Linked DNA regions of Homo sapiens: all the other regions are linked to region 3. The links are contacts of gene promoters, found by promoter capture Hi-C in human tissues and cell types (Jung and others, 2019). All regions are on one chromosome and are shown on one strand. Each heading gives the region's core, a stretch centred on a gene start or on the middle of the fragment in contact. The rest is flanking DNA. Distances are from core to core; before and after follow the strand shown.

Region 1 (3,649 bases), core at 1,032-3,531, 260 kb after region 3:
TGGGATTACAGGAGTGAGCAACCCAACCCGGTATATTATTATTAATGTAATAATCAGTTGGTGAGCACAGTACTGCCCCCAGCCTGCCATGGAAGAAGGCAGAGCTCTAGATTCCTTCCACAAGCAGTTTCTTCTTTTTTTTTTTTTGAGACAGAATCTCGCTCTGTCAGCCAGGCTGGAGTGCAGTGGCACAAACTTGGCTCACCACAAGCTCCGCCTCCCAGGTTCACACCATTCTCCTGCCTCAGCCTCCCGAGTAGCTGGGACTACAGGCGCCCGCCATCACACTCTGCTAATTTTTTAAATATTTTTTAGTAGAGATGGGGTTTCACTGTGTTAGCCAGGGTGGTCTCGATTTCCTGACCTCATGATCCACCCGCCTTGGCCTCCCAAAGTGCTGGGATTACAGGCATGAGCCACCGTGCCTGGCCCATAAGCACTTTCTGAATGGCTGTCCTATCAGCCTGCCTCCCTGAATGGAGCCTGCTCCTTCCAGGTAATGAACTATCTCCACTTACTAACCCAACCCCAGTTACATAGGATAAAACTGAGGGTCACAAGAGGAGAAGAAACCACCCATGGGTGGGACTGGAATACAGGTCCCTGCCCGGTGGGCCAGGGCGGTTGCCCTTGCTTCAGGCTGAGTTTTGGCATTAGAATGTAAGAGTCCAGCTCCCAAGTAAGATTAAAATAGAAACACAGGCTAGGTGGGGTAGCTCACACCTGTAATCCCAGCTACTCAGGAATTCCTTGAACCCAGGAGCCAGAGGTTGCGTGAGAGGAGACTGCACCACTGCACTCCAGCCTGGGCAACAGAGCAAGACTCTGTCTCAAAAAAAATAAATAAAATAGAAACATAGGCCGGGCACGGTGGCTCGTGCCTGTAATCCCAACACTTTGGGAGGCCAAGGCAGGCTGATCACCTAAGGTCAGGAGTTCGAGACCAGCCTGCCCAACACGGTAATTAGCTGGGTGCGGTGGTGCATGCCTGTAATCCCAGCTACTCTGGGAGGCCAAGGCAGCAGAATCATTTGAACCCAGGAGGCAGAGGTTGCAGTGAGCCAAGATTGTGCCACTGCACTCCAGCCTAGGTGACAGAGAGAGTCTGTCTCAAAAAGAAAAGAAAAGAAACATAATTACCTATGGCTGTTCCTGAAGTCGCCCATGATGTAAGAGGTTTTGTGTGGCTGCCCCCTACAGAGCAGCGGTTGGCAAACTTTTTCTGTGAAGGGCCAGAAAATAAATATTTTAGGCTTTGCAGGCCTCTGTCTCAAGTACTGAATTCTGCTCTTGTAGCAAGAAAGCAGCCCGGGGCAGAACTTAAGCAAATGAGCAAGACTGTGTGACACTAAAACGTTATGTATAAACACTGGAATGTGAATTTCATATGATTTTTCACATGCCATGAAAAGTTCATTCTTCTTTTGATTTTTCCCCTAACCATTTAAAAGACATAAAAACCATACTTAGCTCAAAGGCCGTACAAAAACAATGCCCCCCTGCTTAAAGGAGGCAGAATCCATTCTTTGATTTTAGGACTAGAGATATGAAAAGCTATTATTATTTCAGAGAGGTGCCTAAGGCCTGACCGACGGCAGAGAGAAGGGAGGGTCAGTTAATCTCCCTCTGAGCATTCCGGGGTGAGGAGGGGAAAAAAGACCTTCCTTGGTGATGGATTCAGAGCCCTTATTTATTTTTGTTTGTTTTTGAGGCAGGGTCTTTCTCGTATCTTAATCTGTTTTCTTACCTGTAAAGCGGTGGCAATAATCCCTACCTTGAGCGATTATTAAGAGGGCTCAATGAGATAAAGGATGGTAAAAGATTTTGCAAAATGCGAATGTTTACTCACTTAATTGTTTCCACAGATGCGCGCTTAAGATCGCGCACTGAGTTTACTCCTCTGGGGAAGGCTTCTACGAAGTTTGATGGGACACTGTCCCTTTAAATCCTCCCCAACCACTTAAAGTGGTTGGACGAATCAGCACATGCGCATTCCTTTGAGGGGCCGGCACCTGGAGCAACAGCCTTCCCAGAGCCTGTAGAGGGGAGGTTAAAGGTCCTCCCACACAGTACTTTACGCAAGCGTAAATCATGATTGAGAGCCCTATATCATGCAGAGAGCCCAGTCCCTTTTTCGCGCCCGAAGGCTCCGCCCCGCGCAGCCAATCAGTAGGCCTCGCCCTTTGCAATAGCCAATGACAGTGAGCGTAGGGGGCGTGGCTGGGCGTCCGGAGGCGCGGCCTGGCGCCTAGAGAAGCGGCGGGGCGAGCCGGGGGCTCTAGTGAACAGCGGAGCCGGACGGGGATCGCCGGCGGGCGGCAAGCGGAGGCGGCCCAGGCCCGGCGGTCTCCGAGATGTCACGATGGCTGTGGCCATGGTCAAACTGTGTGAAAGAGCGGGTCTGCCGCTACTTGCTGCACCACTACTTAGGTCACTTCTTCCAAGAGCACCTCAGCCTGGACCAGCTCAGCCTCGATCTGTACAAGGGCAGCGTTGCCCTGCGAGACATCCACCTGGAAATCTGGGTGAGGAGCCAGGCCCGAGTCCAGGAAGGTGCGGAGGGTGGGAGCGCAGCGACCTGAGGCTCCCTGCGGCAGGATCGGGCTGGGGGATCAGGCACCGGGCGTAGAGAGGCCAGGGGAATCTTGCCCTCTCCAGGCGTCAGAGGCACCCCGGCTGGCCTCTTCAGTTCCTTACCAGAGCCAGAAACTGAGCGGGAAGGGGTTTCTGTCTCCACGGGAGGAGAAACTGAGGCTGGAGAGGGCAAGATCACCTGTCTGGAGAATGCAAGACAAACTCGTCGAGTTTGGGGGCTGAGTTAAGGAGGTTGGCTCTCGGGCTGAGGAGGGGCTGGGGAGGGAGCGTAGGAACTGAGCTGGGCCAGGGCAGTGACAGACTTGGGCCTGCGCAGCTGGTGGGGGAAGCTGGTAGGGGTCCGGAGCCCTGGCGAGGACACCTGTGGATCATGTGCCCTGACCTCTTGACCCCACGGTCCTGAGCCCGTAGGTGGGATCAACAAACCACCGGATGTGTATGTCAACAACCGCGTCAGTACGTCAGTACCAGTGTTGATCAACACCTCGTGTGCCTGGGTCGCTGCCTACTTCCTGCTTTTGGGAGAGTGGGATGGGCCAAGTGGGTGTCTAGGGAGGGACTGGATGGCCCCCACCTACATCTCCCACCGACCCCCCCGGCTCAGTGTCCCTGCCTGGAGGGAGGCCCTGGAGGAAAGGTGGGGAGATCTGGCTTCAAGCCGGGAGGAGGCCAAGGGAGATGCTAGGGAGGCCAAGAGGTGTAAGGTCAGAGGCTTGAGGCTGGGAACGGTGAGGAGCCCTGACTCACAGCTCAGCTGACCTGGGGAGCTTTGAAGGAGCCACCAATTAGAGGCGCGTCCTGGTCGATCCACCAGGTCCAGAGCAGCAGGGGTGGGCATGGAGGCAGGGACTTCTCAGTTTTGTGGCTGGACTCAGGGGGCTGCTAATCTGGGCAGAAGAGCTAGGCTTTGGGGGTAGGCCAGGCCCTGGTGAGCAAATGTGGGGTAGGATAATCGTGGGCCCTGAACTGGGGGCACCCCCCAGTGGCCTGCTGTCTGTGAATTCTGGTGTAGGAAGCCCTCTCTGACCTCTAACCTTAGCCTCAGCCTCTAAGG
Region 2 (3,578 bases), core at 338-2,837, 380 kb before region 3:
AATTTTTTGTTTTTTATTACCAGTAGTTGAACATAGATGTTGAGTGAATAGATACCCATCTCACAAGCAAGGAAACTGGGGCTTAGAGACAGTAAGAATCCAACCCTGGACTGTTTGACTGTGCTGTGCTCCATGGTGAGCCACAGCCAGCTCTAGGCAGAGTCAGGACAGGTTCAGATGAGTGTTAGGAAAAAATGAGTATACAATGCTCAGCCCTGTGCCTGGCAGGTGGTCGGCACCTAGCATTATTCCCTGCCTCCGTGTGGACCAGGGCCCCAAGAAGCAGGGGCTTGCCCCTCACACCCCATCCTGGATTCCGGCAGCAGGGATCCCTGGGGACATGTGATTGTCCCTCCCAGCCCTGCACCGCTTAGTAAGGGGGACTTACTAAGCGTCCCCCTAAAGCTACCCACATCAACTTACGCTCAAAGTAAAAACAGAGTTCCTTGGACAGGTGTGCCTGAAAGTGAGTCCCTGAACCTCCTCTCCCCAATTAGACTGCTGCCCCGGGTGCTGTCCGGGAGAGGGTCTGGTGCCGCCCTGACTTGGCAGCGCTTTTCCTGGATGTGCCCTAGCCGTCCCCACCTCCTGCTGAGTTCTGTGAGTCAGAGACGGAACCCTGGGGTCTCCTGGCAGGCCCCACAGTAAGGCCTGGGCCCCCGCACGTTGCAGCCTTTCCTTCCAGACCAGCGGACAAGCCTGGTCTGGAACTATGCTCCTCTCCAGCCATGGCCAACCTGAAGACCCCCACCCCCAGCCGCTGCCAGCCCCTGCCCTGGGGCTCTGCTGTGCCCCTCTCCAGCCCCTGGGCCCTCGGACAGCGCCCCCGTCCTCCCGGCTGTTAGCCTGGGAAGGGGGCCAGGCCCTGAGCTCAGACCTTGGCGATTCCAGAGTGTCTGAGGCCCAGAGCCAGCCCCGCCAGCACGGCCAGACGAAAGGAAAGGGGGGAGGTGGCAGGGTGGGCACCAGGAAGCCATTCCGAGGGGGCTGGCAGGGAAGCTGGGTTCTAGCTTTGTTCTTTCTGCTCCTCTTCTGGACCCCACAGACTTCCTCCTGGGACCTCCGTGAGCCCTGGCCAAAGGCTGTCCCCACCCTTTAGCCCTTTCCTCAGAGGGGATTGGACCAGCACTAACGAGAAGTTACTTTGGGGCCCTGAGACCCCCACGTTTGCAAGGGAGGCTGGGAAAGAGCTGGAAGGCCTGGGCTCCGGCTCCACCCGGCCTCCATCGTCAGTGTGACCCGGCAGGGCCACCTCTCTCCCTCAGCCTCGGTATCTCGCTCTACGCAGGCCTCCCCGCCCCGCCCCGCCCGGAGGAATCCGCGGCCGGCCAGACGGTCCCAGGTGAGGGCCCTCTGGAAAGGGCCCAGCGCGGCCGCGGGTTCCGGCGGGGGCGGGCATCTGGGGTGGGGACTGTCCCCGCGCCACCCCCCAGCCTCCGCCAGCCTGCACACCCTCGCTTCTCCAGGCGGCAGAGGCGACGCTTTAAACAACAAAAAAAAAAAAACTGTGTCCCTGGCCCGGGGCCAGCGTCCCAGCCCCCCTCGCCGCCGCCGCGCCGCGCTCCAGCCAGGGAAAACAACTGCTCACTTCTCCCTGAGCCCTCCCCGCGCGCTCCCTGCCTCCCCGCGGCCGCGGGAGAGGAGCCCGGCCAGGGGGAGGCGCGGAGCGGGCCGGCCGCCCGGCCTTCCTCTCCCTCGCTCCTCCTCTCCGCCTCAACTTGCTCCGGCCTCCTCGCTCCTGCCTGAGTTCGGGGCCTGGTCTGGGCTTCGTCCTGGGGCTGGGAAGTTTCTGCGCTCCCCGCTGTCCAGTCTGCATCTCCGCGCCTCCCGCCGGGCCCCCGCGGTCCCCTCCCGCCCGCTTCCCCCGCTGCCCTCCCTCGCTGCCCCCTACCCTCTCCCGGGGCTCCCGGCCCTCTACTCCCTTCGGGCGCGGGCCCCTCGCCCCGCCCGGGCGCGCCCCCCCTCCCCCGGGTCCTGCGGCCCCGGATGCCCGGGCCCCGAGGGGCTGCTGGCGGCCTGGCCCCTGAGATGCGCGGGGCGGGGGCGGCGGGGCTGCTGGCGCTGCTGCTGCTGCTGCTGCTGCTGCTGCTGGGCCTGGGCGGCAGGGTCGAGGGGGGGCCGGCCGGCGAGCGGGGCGCAGGCGGGGGCGGGGCGCTGGCCCGCGAGCGCTTCAAGGTGGTCTTTGCGCCGGTGATCTGCAAGCGGACCTGTCTCAAGGGCCAGTGTCGGGACAGTTGTCAGCAGGGCTCCAACATGACGCTCATCGGAGAGAACGGCCACAGCACAGACACGCTCACGGGCTCCGGCTTCCGCGTGGGTGAGGGCCGGGGGCACGGCTGGGGGCAGGGGAAGGACAGGCACCAGGCCCGGTGGGAGAGCTAGTGGGGTCTTGGCCTTAGAGACTGGGGGCTGAGGGTATAAAGGGCAGAGATCCGAGGGCCTGGGGGACCAGGGGCCTCAGGGAACTTGGGAGGCTGGAACTCTGGGGGCCAGAGTTGGAGGGCTGCATGGAGGCCTGGACTTTGAAGCTTTGCGTTAGGGTTGGGGCCTAAGGGGTGGGGAAATGCAGAGGTCCTGGATGACACTGGCTTCCCAGAAGGTGCTGAGTTCTGAGCAGGAGCACACAGGGTTTTTGAGGAATGTGAGCCGGGGACAGGAAGCCTCAGAGAAGGGCTAAATATTCCCGCAAGAAGCAGACTTGCTGGAAGAAACAAGAAAAGTCTTTACAAAATGTCTAAAGTAGGGCCTGCCAGAGTAGACACCTGCATTCCCTGGGAGGAGGAGCTAAGGTCAGGGCTGGGGATGGGAGCCGGCTACTGGCAAGGTCTGAGTAGGGAGGGTGTTGAGGCCTAAAAGTAGGGTGCAGGCCTGAAGGTAGGGACTAGTTCGGGGTTCTCAGCCTCTCCTTTTCCAATGCCTCCCCATAAGCTCCTAACATCCTGCCTCAGAGGCCCTCAGGGCCCCCCTCATCCTCCCCCAAGCCCCTACACCCTCCCCAGTTCAGCTTGGAGTCCACCCCCTCCCCAGCATCTCTCTTTAAAGGGCCAGGCCTGGGGCTCAGTCATCCTCCTGCTAGGCCCCGTGGGCCAGGCTCGGGGAGGTGTCCCAGCAGTAATTACCCTCCTGGACAGGGTAATTAGGCCAGGCCCAGGATGGCACCAGCAAAACAGCCCCTCTTACACATTCCTATATTCACTCTCCCACTCACAGAGCTAAGGAACCCCACTCATGTGGCTCAAATTTGTCATGAGATGGGGTGTGCGTGCGTGTGTCTGTGCGCATATTGCCCCTGTGTCTGGGGTCATGCCATGGGCATGGCGTGGCACACTGTGAAGTACCCGTCTTTGTGTTGTCTTGGGTGTGTGTCTCTAGTCGCTGTTAGAGAGTATGTGGGAATGTTTTTGTTTTTGTGTTTTTGAGATGGAGTTTTGCTCTTGTTACCCAGGCTGGAGTGCAATGGCGCAATCTCAGCTCACTGCAACCTCCCCCTTCTGGGTTCAAGTGATTCTCCTGCCTCAGCCTCCCAAGTAGCTGGGATTACAGGCATGCGCCACCACGCCTGGCCAATTTTTTTGTAT
Region 3 (4,102 bases), core at 1-2,500:
TCTGTGCGGGTAGCTCCATCCACAATGAACTGGGGGTTTGACAGCAGTTCCTACGAGAGACCCAGAGTCCTGTTCCTCGGCCAGCCCCTCCCAGAAATTGGCACCAGGCCACCCCAGACCCCATTCCCCACCAGGGACATGGAGTCCCATCCCTACTCCTCATCCAGGATCTGGCTTAGCCGAGTCCCACCCAGGATGGCCCCTCTCACCGTGGGACGCTTCCACTTGATGCCATAGGTCTTGGAGGAATTGGGACCCAGGTCCTTGTAACCCAGGCTCTGGGGTACCGGGGGGAAGGCCTCATCACGGAAGAGGGTCCCACTCTGCAGGCATCGCACCCGCAGCTGCTCATAATCCTGGCCCAGGTACTTGATGGCATTCTCATGGCGGCCCAGGCCCAGCTCCCTGGCCCGCTGCTTCTGCACTTGGGCTGACACCCCAGTGCAGTACACCGGCGTGATGATCTCCTCCGACATCCTGCCGGACAGATGGGCCTGCTCAGAACCCAGGCCTTCCCAAGACTAGAACCTGGGCTCCTGCCTGCAAGCTCTGCTCTCCTGCCCCTGCTTATCCATCCCCAAACCTAGGGTTTCCCTGCCTCACTGCTCCCCTCACAGAAGTAGGGTTCTCAGCCACCTCCCGGTGCTCCCAGTGAATCCAGGAAAGGGATTTCCCAGTTCCCAGGCGTGCCGGCCACCTCTCCTTTCCCGGATCCCATTGTCAGGGGCTTGCAGCTCTGTAGTGAGCCAGCAGGTCAGGTGGGGCAGGGCGGAGCCTCCAGACAGCACAAGGAACTGGGCAGGTGGGACACAGCAGGGAAGGCCTCTTTGATCCTGTTCACAGGCCTGCAACCCCCTCCCCAAACTAACCAAGCTCCTGGTGCACCGGCCCCTTGCCGTGGGCTGAAAACCCCAGACGGTCGGGGTCCCCCTCCTCAGGCCCCCGCAGCAGGCTCGATATCAGAGCTGGTGGGCCCTAGCCCAGCCCCTGGGGACAGCGGTGAGCCAGGCTGGGACAGGCGCCTGGGCTGTGCCGCTCCGCCAGCCCCCACCCCTGCTCCAGGAACGCAGAGGCCCCCGAGAAGGGACCGTGCTGGGGCAGCCCCTCAGCCCAGGAGCAGTGGCCAGGGTCAAGGAATCCCGGCTCGGCTACCCAGCTTCTTACCTGGGGGAGGGGTGTTTGGGGGTCGCTGCAGTCCCTGAGGCTGGCTTCCCGGTGGCAGCTCAGGGCAGGGCCCAACCAGGAAGAGCGCTCCTCCCCGCCCTCCTCCCGCCGCCCCTCCGCCCTCCGCCCTCCCTCTCTCCTTCTCCTCCTCCTCCTCCTGGGGCTCCTACCCCGCTTCCTCTCGGCTCTCCCTTATCTCTCCGGCACGGTCTCTGACTATCTCTTACTCACGGTGTCTCCCCGCCCCTCCCTCCGCAGGCCGGGGGCCAATTCCGCGAGAGGACAAATTAGTAAAAGGCAGAGCAGTCCCCGGGGAGGGGCCAGCGCGGGGGGGGATGGGGGGGCTGGGGCGCGGCGGAAGGGCACCGCGGGGAACGGAGGGGGAGGGCCGGGCAGGGGGTATTTTTAACCAGGGGCAGCAGCTCGAGTTGCAGGGCCGGACGGCCGCACCCCACGCGCGCCCTGGCGGGCATTCCGGGGCGATTGTGCGGCGGCGCCGCCTCCCGCAGCCCCGGGCCCGCCCGGTCCCCAGCTCCCCTCGCTCCGCGCGACCGCAGCTGCTCCCGCCGTTCCCAGCCAGCCCCGGCGCGGGGCCGAGATTACCTCGGGCTGCGGCAGCTGCTCTGAGGAGGGGCCGGGCTGGCAGCGAGCAGACCCCTGCCGGACACTCAGCAAACGGCAGCCTCACCCCGCAGGGCCGCGCCACTCCCCTTCCCCACCCCACCGCCGCGTCCCGGCTCAGCGCTCCCCGGGGAACGCAGGGGGACCGGGCTCGCTGCGTGACCTTGGGTAAGTCCCTGCCCCGTTCGGCCCGACTTTCCGCATGCGTGCATCCTATGGGATGGGGTTGGGCAATTGTGGGAGCCCATCTTTCTCTAACGTTCTGGGGTTTCTTGAACCTGGAAACTTAGAGAGGTGGACATCCCTGTTCTCTCCCCCAGGCTCTCAGCCCACCCACCTGGAAGCGCCCATGTGTCACCTTACCCAGGAGAGGGCGGCAGAGGCTGCGAGCAGGACGGCAGCCCCCTCTCCCCACCCCCAGGACCCTGAGATCCTGCTTCACGGGCTGCAAGAAGTTGGGGGGCCAGGATTCGGCGCGGAGGCCGGGGGTGTGGGTGGGGAGACTGCAGAGACTCCCGAGACCCCCCCAAGTCAGGGCTTTTCGCTGGTCTCGCAGCCCCAGCCCAGCAGCTGCTGCAGTCTTGCATGTTGTGGATGCAAGCATTTTGCTGAGGAAACTGCATAGCGTTCCCAGGACTCTAGGGCCCACGACCCCTCAAAAGTTAAGAGCCGCTGATCTAATCTAACCCCACTTTCACCCTCAGTTAACAAAAGAGGAAAACTGAGGCCTGAGAGGGTGTGACTTGCCTGAAATACCTAACCTGGTGAGTGATGGGTGGAACCAGCTCCTAGGCTTTCTGCGCAGGTGTCCAGGGACAGAGAAGGGTGGTTTAAACTAGAGAGGTGGCAGGCAGAAGTAGATGGATTTGATAACTATTTAGGATACACCATCAAAATTTAACTCAAACTGGATTACACACCTAAATATAAATGGCCAAACCATAAAACTTTTTTTTTTAAAAATGGAGACAATCTTAACAATATTGGGTTTGAAAAGATTTCTTTTTTCTTTTCTAAAGGCAGGGTCTTGCTTTCATTGACCAGGCAGGAGTGCAGTGCCCTGATCACAGCTCACTGTAACTTTAAACTCCTGGGCTCAAGAGATCCTCTCACCTCAGCCTCCTGAGTAGCTGAGACTACAGGCACGTGCCACGACACACAGCTAATTTTTAAATTTTTTGTAGAAATGGGGTCCTGCTGTGTTACTCAGGCTGGTCATGAACTCCTGGGCTCAAGCAGTCCTCCTGCCTGAGCCTCCCAAAGTGCTGGGATTACAGGTGTGAGCTTTGGCACCTGGCCAGATTTCTTAAATATGACACAAAAAGTGTAAATGATAGAAGAAATCAATAAATTGAACTTCATCAAAATAAAACGCTTTTGTTTCTCAAAATGCACGAAACTATTAAAAATGAAAAGATAAGCCATAGACTAGGACGAATATTTGTAAAAATTCTATCTGATGTAGGACTTGTATAAAGAACTTTTACAATTGAATAAAAATCCAATAAAAATGGACAAAACATTTGTTTGTTTTCTGGTGTTTGTTTTTGTTTTTGAGATGGAGTCCCGCTCCATCACCCAGGTTGGAATGCAGTGGCGCGATCCTGGCTCACTGCAACCTCCACCTCCTGGGTTCAAGCAATTCTCCTGCCTCAGCCTCCCCAGTAGCTGGGATTACAGGCGCCCGCCACCACACCAGGCTAATTTTTGTATTTTTAGTAGAGACAGGGTTTCACCATGTTAGCCAAGCTGGTCTCAAACTCCTGACCTCAAGTGATCTGCACGCCTCTGCCTCCCAAGGTGCTGGGATTACAGGGTGAGCCACCGCGCCTGTCAAAAAATGGACAAAACATTTGAACAGACACTTCATCCAAAAAGATCTCTGGATGGCAAATAGGCACATTAAAAAACACTGAGTGCATTACTCTTAGGGAAATGCAAATTAAAGCCACTAGAAGGACTGCTTCTAAAAGAACACCTACTAGAATGGCTAAAAGTTAAGATCAACCATACCAAGTGTTGTTATGTTGTCAAGGATATAGAAGAACTGGAGCTGTCATACACCAAGAGAGGGTAAAATGATCACCACCACTTTGGAAGACAGTTTGGCAATTTCTTTAAAATTTAGCGATACAAAGAAATCAGCCATCAAGCTACAAAAAGACATAGCATAACCTTAAACGCATATTGCTAAGTAAAAGAGGCTGGTATTAAAAAGCTGCATACTGTATGATTCCAATAACTCTATATGACGTTCTAGAAAAGGCAAAACTAGCAATGGTAAAAAGATCAGCAGTTGCCAGGGATTCAGAGGGGT

The links. Contacts are between HindIII fragments. The study calls those that stand out against the background at their distance.
Region 1: a contact is called between the fragment with the promoter of ATG2A here and the fragment with the promoter of CAPN1 in region 3, in 1 of the 25 tissues and cell types used here (mesenchymal stem cells).
Region 2: the fragment with the promoter of LTBP3 here is called in contact with the fragment with the promoter of CAPN1 in region 3 in 2 of the 25 tissues and cell types used here (mesendoderm cells and spleen).

Annotation. Positions count from the first base shown.
Region 1 is chr11:64,915,841-64,919,489 of GRCh38, reverse strand. ATG2A (autophagy related 2A) reads left to right here and starts at 2,281. Exons shown (of 41, transcript NM_015104.3): 1 at 2,281-2,525. The coding sequence starts at 2,355. It also overlaps a transcript of PPP2R5B not described here. RefSeq lists an enhancer at 1,880-2,009 and a silencer at 2,060-2,369. The HindIII fragment of the contact is 28,686 bases long and covers 1-3,649 here.
Region 2 is chr11:65,556,368-65,559,945 of GRCh38, reverse strand. It overlaps LTBP3 (latent transforming growth factor beta binding protein 3), which reads left to right and starts at 1,587. Exons shown (of 28, transcript NM_001130144.3): 1 at 1,587-2,317. The coding sequence starts at 1,987. RefSeq lists silencers at 1,309-1,468, 1,519-1,758. The HindIII fragment of the contact is 15,125 bases long and covers 1-3,578 here.
Region 3 is chr11:65,179,076-65,183,177 of GRCh38, reverse strand. CAPN1 (calpain 1) reads right to left here and starts at 1,250. Exons shown (of 22, transcript NM_005186.4): 1 at 1,165-1,250; 2 at 210-477; 3 at 1-50. The coding sequence starts at 476. It overlaps CAPN1-AS1 (CAPN1 antisense RNA 1), which reads left to right and starts at 1,344. Exons shown (of 2, transcript NR_145677.1): 1 at 1,344-1,953; 2 at 2,106-3,307. RefSeq lists enhancers at 1-773, 774-1,563 and silencers at 586-880, 1,482-1,931. The HindIII fragment of the contact is 8,891 bases long and covers 1-3,676 here.